Linked DNA regions of Homo sapiens: region 1 is linked to region 2. Evidence: promoter capture Hi-C in human tissues and cell types (Jung and others, 2019). All regions are on one chromosome and are shown on one strand. Each heading gives the region's core, a stretch centred on a gene start or on the middle of the fragment in contact. The rest is flanking DNA. Distances are from core to core; before and after follow the strand shown.

What was found. The method cuts DNA at HindIII sites, captures the fragments that hold promoters and counts their contacts. A contact is called where the count stands out against the background at its distance.
Region 1: a contact is called between the fragment with the promoter of KREMEN2 here and the fragment with the promoter of KCTD5 in region 2, in 3 of the 25 tissues and cell types used here (IMR-90 fibroblasts, mesenchymal stem cells and stomach).

What each region holds. Positions count from the first base shown.
Region 1 is chr16:2,962,821-2,965,695 of GRCh38, reverse strand. KREMEN2 (kringle containing transmembrane protein 2) reads right to left here and starts at 1,421. Exons shown (of 9, transcript NM_172229.3): 1 at 1,082-1,421; 2 at 663-837. The coding sequence starts at 1,175. RefSeq lists enhancers at 1-42, 1-604, 2,573-2,702, 2,189-2,875 and silencers at 403-772, 843-1,092, 1,623-1,702, 2,253-2,382, 2,413-2,492. The HindIII fragment of the contact is 31,540 bases long and covers 1-2,875 here.
Region 2 is chr16:2,681,115-2,683,814 of GRCh38, reverse strand. KCTD5 (potassium channel tetramerization domain containing 5) reads right to left here and starts at 1,292. Exons shown (of 6, transcript NM_018992.4): 1 at 1,015-1,292. The coding sequence starts at 1,266. RefSeq lists enhancers at 610-659, 730-779, 324-934 and a silencer at 1,030-1,209. The HindIII fragment of the contact is 14,940 bases long and covers 1-2,700 here.

The DNA of each region.
Region 1 (2,875 bases), core at 172-2,671, 280 kb before region 2:
GGGTTCAAGCGATTCTCCTGCCTCAGCCTCCTGAGTAGCTGGGATTACAGGCGCCCGCCACCATGCCCCGCTAATTTTTTGTATTTTTAGTAGAAATGGGGTTTCACCATGGTAGCCAGGCTGGTCTCGAACTCCTGACCTCAGATGATCCGCCTGCCTTGGCCTCCCAAAGTGCTGGGATTACAGGCTGAGCCACCGCGCCTGGCCTCCAACCCCACTTAAAAGCAGAAGTGAGCTCCTGAGCTTTGCGGCTCTCCTCCCGCTGGGTCCATCCTGCCTCAGACCGTAGCTGTGGCTCTGAACCCCAAAATAAGTTGTATGACAAGAGCCCCACTCTGACAAGGCCCCGCCCATTCGGCCCCCGCTCTGACCAGGCCCCGCCCATACGGGTCCTTTGAGTGCCCAGGTCCGTTTCTCTCCTGGCCCTGAACTGGAGCTCTGCAGAAATTGTTCACCTGAGGAGGATCCCTTTTGCGCCAGGGTTCCGCGCGCCCCGCCCCGCCCCGCCCCGCCCCTCATTCTGGCCCCGCCCCCAGGTTCTCCAGGAGGCTGGGCTGCCAGTCCACGGCAGACCTCCACCCCGCCCGCACGGAGGCCCCGCTTCGGGCCATCCCTGCAATGGTGAGCCCAGCCTCGCCCCCAGCGCAGGCCCCGCCCCTCACCGGCAGAAGTTGTGCGCGCCCAGCCCCCAGCGGCCGTGGGGGTCGCTGGCGCTGCTGTAGCTGTGTTGCTGCGTCTGGTCCCAGAAGAGGCACGGGCGGCCCGCCCCGCGCGGGCCAGTGCGGTTCTGGTGGCCGCGGTAGTCAGCCCCATTCACCTGGAAGCATTCGGACAGGCCTGCACGGCAAAGGCAGGGCCTGGGGAGGTCCGGACCCACGCCGGGCATCCTCGCGCCCCTACGCCACCTCCCGCCTGGGTCCCCAGCCAGCGACCCCGCACCCGCCCCTGCAGGAGCCCTCGGGCTGCTCAGCTGCTCCGGCCACCTGCTCTGTCCCCCTCCCTAGCCTTGGGGGCCTGGCCCTGGGGGCGGAGGCCGAGGAAGGGGTGGTGAACACGGCCCGACAGCCGTGCGGGGACTTACCTGGACTGTGCAGGCTCCCAGCCGAGGCCCCACGCGGCTGCAGCAGCGGGAGGAAGAGGAGAAAGAGGAAGCCCTGCAGGGCTTGTGTCCCCATCGCTCTCAACCAAGGATAGGTCACCCTCGCCCGGACACGGCCCGGGCTGCCCCCGGGGTCGCTTCGGGGTCTCCCAGGAGACCTAGGGGGCGTTGTCCTCTGACAGTCTCCCCTCGTCCGACTCTGAGCCGCGCTTTCCGTCTGGGGTGGGTAAATCTCTCCTGGGGGTCTTTGCCTCCCAGGGCCTCTGCCCCTAGAGGCGTCTCTCTGTCCCTGTCCCTACCCGGGTCTCTCCGGGGGGAATCTGGCCGGGGGCGTTCTCAGTCTCTGTCTCAGCGAGCTCTGGGCGGTGCCTCAGCCTCTACGCCCGCCCCCTCCCACTGAGCCTAGCTCTCGGCGTCTCCCTCGCCCAGGTCTCCAACGGGCTGACTCCTGCCCGCCTCGCATCCCTCCGTGGGTCCCTCCCCCTGGGTCTCTCCCTCCCCCCATGGGAGGCCGGGAAGCCCCGCCCAGCACTGGAGCGGAGGCAGCAGGTCCAGACGCCTCCCACGCCCGTTCCCCCGACCCCGGGCGTCCAGCGCTTCCCGGCCCCCTCTCCCTCAGGTCGGTGCCGGTTCAAGTGGGAAGGTGTGGAGGGGGACAGGCGGGGCAAGCGGACGGAAGGCCCTTAAAATGGGAGATACAGAACCCCCTCACGTGGTCGCACGCGCCCCAGGACACCCGGAATGTCCGAGTTACAAGCGCCCTCCTCCCAGTGCACGCACGCGCTCGCACTCTCTCCCATTCATTGCCAGGCGCTCACGCGCACACTTTCTTCGGATCCGCACGCCCCTCCCGCCCCTGGTCCAGATGCCGCTGGCCTGACGGAGGAAGCTCCACTCCCTGCCCCCGCGCCCACGAGACAGGCGGGAGTCGTGGACGCTCAGTCCGGGACAGGCAGGGGCAGCTGGTGTCTGGGGAGAAAGGCAGCTGCGCCCCAGGTCCCAGTCTGTCCCCTCCTCCTCCCCCTGCCCCGCCCTTCCCTGGGACCCCCAGCCCAGACTCTCCCGAGCCTTCACACTGCAGTGGAATTCCCCCAGCCGTGCCCCCCACCTGGCGGGGGAGGGGGAGGGGAGCAGGCCCAGGCAGGCGTGGGGGGAAATTCCCCGCCCCCTCCCCCTGGGCCCGACTCCTCCGAGTCCTCTGATCTCCCAGCGCCACCCGCCCGCTGCCCCCAGGGCTTGGGGGGAGGCCAGCGCAGGTGCGTGGGAGGGCGGAGGCGGGGGCCGGGGGAAGGAACTGGTGGGGGCCGGGCGCCCAGAGCGGCCCCGCCCCGCCCAGACCTCTTTGCCCCTCAGTCCAGCCTGCCCAGCCCGCACCAGGCCCTCGCCAAGCTGTCGAGCCCAGGCCGACCAGTCCCCGCCCTGCAGCCCCCACACCGTCTCTGCCCCGGTGTCGATGGAGAAGAAAGATGGGGTTCAGGGAGGTTCTGTCAGGCCCAGGCACCCACTGCGGTGCTGGGACCCGCGAGGATCTTCCAGCTGGCGCCTCACGCGAGTGTGCTCTGGAGGAGGGGCGTGGAGCCGAGGTGGGGGCATTTGAAGGAGATGGACTTGCTGAGACTCTAGGCCAGGGTCCTGGTCGCCTCCTCCGGGAGCCCTCTCAGAGGCCAGGCTGGCCCGGCTCACTGAGCCCTGAGCTGGGGCCTCCAGCACCCACGGGCTCCCTGGAACCCAACTGCGCTTCCCGACGAGGGAGCATCCGGGACCACCTGTCTGCCC
Region 2 (2,700 bases), core at 43-2,542:
CCTCCTGCATGGCAAATGTTGGCTGCCAAGGCACAAAGCCAAGCGCAGTCATGTAAGCTCAACTGAAAGACCCCGCAAAGTTAGTATAAGGCTTGTGAACTGCCTTGAATAAATATAGGTAACAACTTCTTCAAACAGGCTTTTTTGTGAGTTTCAATCCTGCACAACTCCCAAGACACGGTTCCTCGGCTCCACAACTCTTGATAAATAAAGGTAGCAAAAGGTTTCTATTACCATCTACCCAACAGCATGAGCATTTCGCTTGATGAAAGACAAGCTGCAAACTAACCTGGAAATTCCTGTCCTTTTGCGAAGACAGTGGGAAAACTAAGCCAATTAGAAAGCAGATTGAAAGATTCCTTACCTGACCCTTCCTGGACATCCCTAAAGCAACCCTTAATATGAGCAAAATCCCCTTCGAAAAATCATACTATATACTACGGACGCATCTTCTAAGAGGTGCTGAGTGGGTGCTGCGTGCTGTGGATGGAAAGGATGGAGCGCCAACTCTCTAAATGCAAGTCACCAGGGAAAAAAAGGGCCGCCCATATCAACCCCCACGTCAGCGTTAATTCAAACGTCCAGAATGTGAAACAACGCCAAGGGTTCTGTTTCCAGAGCCAGCAAGTACCCTGGGACAGAGAAGAGAAGGCGTTCACACACCCTGGGCAAAAGAACCTAGTGAGAAAAAGAAAGTAGAATCACAGCAAAGTCCGGGGTCTAGGAAGCCTCCTCCACCAAAGAGCAAAGAGGGCGAGGAAGAGACACCCCCAAGGTGAATCGACTCAGGATCCTCAAAGGCAGTGGACGCCAGGGCGCCATCCTCACCCTCCCCTCCCAGGGTAGGGGATCGGGGCAAGCTGGGGAGGAGCTGGCGACAAGGGAGCGCGGGGCTCGAAGCCCGAGGAGAGTCGCCCGCTCCCGCTGAAGTCTCCTCCGCACGAAGCAGGGCGTGTGCAGGAGCCGCAGGCCGGGAAGGCCAGGACCCTCCGGGCTGGCCCGTGAGGCCCTCACCTTGTCTGAGTCCAGGTCGGGATCGGCCTGGCATAAGCGGTACAGGAAGGATTTCGGGTCCCGGCACAGGGTCTGCCGAGTGGTGAGGAAGTAGGTGCCGCCGACGTTGAGTCGGACCCACTTGGACACGCTGCCAGGGCGCTGGGCCAGGGCGCCGAGCCCAGCGCTGCAGCGGCGGCACAGGCCGCCCCCCAGCCCCGCCCCGATGCCGCCCCGGGCCGGCGACAGGAGCTCGCAGTGATTCTCCGCCATGATCCCAGCAAGCCCCGCAACAGCTCCCTTCCACCGGAAGCGTCCGGCTTTTAATAGCGTCCTCTGAGTTCTGTCCCGCCCACAGGTCCGCCCTGGTAGAGCGCCCGCCCCGGCGTCACGCGGTAGGCGGAAGTTCCGGTCCCGAAAAGCAGGAGGCTGGGCCCGCTTCCGGCGGGAGCGGAGCACGGGGTGATCTGGGCACTAACGCTGATGGGGAGCAGCGGACATCAGCCTCGACCTCCCACGAGCGGTGCACGAGCGCCTGACCCAGACCTCGACCCTAGCCTTCACCCCCACCCTGACTCCAGTTCATGAACTGGTCAAAGGAAGAGCCATGCCAGCAAACGTCTACACTGTACATGCTTTTTATTACAAGACTACGGAGCATAGGAGGAAAATTCATCATCTGGTAACTACACCTAAAGCACAAATATTTGGGGGGAAAAAAAGAACAGATTCATTAAATTATATGATTAAATCATTGACCCAATAGAAAATTTATATAATAAGGGCGGGGCCTGGTGGCTCACGCCTGTAATCCCAGCACTTTGGGAGGCCGAGGCGGGAGGATCAGGCGGTCAGGAGATCGAGACCACGCTGGCCAACATGGTGAGGCCCGGTCTCCACTGAAAATACAAAAATTAGCCTGGCGCGGTGGTGGGCGCCGGTAATCCAAGCTACTCGGGAGGCTGCGGCAGGAGAATGGCGTGAACCCGGGAGGCAGAGGTTGCAGTGAGCTGAGATCTCGCCACTGCACTCCAGCCTGGTGATAGGGCGAGAGTCTGTCTCAAAAAAAAAAAAAGAAAGTTTTTGTAATAAAGCCAGAAAAAAGTTGTAAAATATATAGTAATTATTCACATTCAAGGCTGTATATCAATACATATAACAACGTGGCCCCGAACATGAATTCAATACAAATAATTCATATATTAGAATTTAGGCCGGGCGCGGTGGCTCATGTCTGTAATCCCAACACTTTGGGAGGCCAAGGTGGGTGGATCACGAGGTCAGGAGTTCAACATCAGCCTGGCCAAGATGGTGAATCTCCGTCTCTACCAAAAATACAAAAAATTAGCCAGATGTGGTTGTGGGCGCTCGTAATCCCAGCTACTCGGAGGCTGAGGCAGAGAATTGCTTAAACCCAGGAGGCGGAGGTTGCAGTTAGCCGAGATCAGGCCACTGCACTCTAGCCTGGGCGACAGAGTGAGACTCCGTCTCAAGAAAAAAAAAGAATTTAAATAACAGGCTGAACTAGAGGCCAACAATAGCCAGCAAATAACCTTCTATAAGATTAAAAACACAAAAGTGTATATCCTAATACCATTGTATTATTTGTTTTCATGAGTTCTTTTAATTTTTGCTTTGTCTGTACATCACAGTTACAGCTACAGACCAGGTAGAGAATATTACGCATGTTCTGACTGCCACCCACCT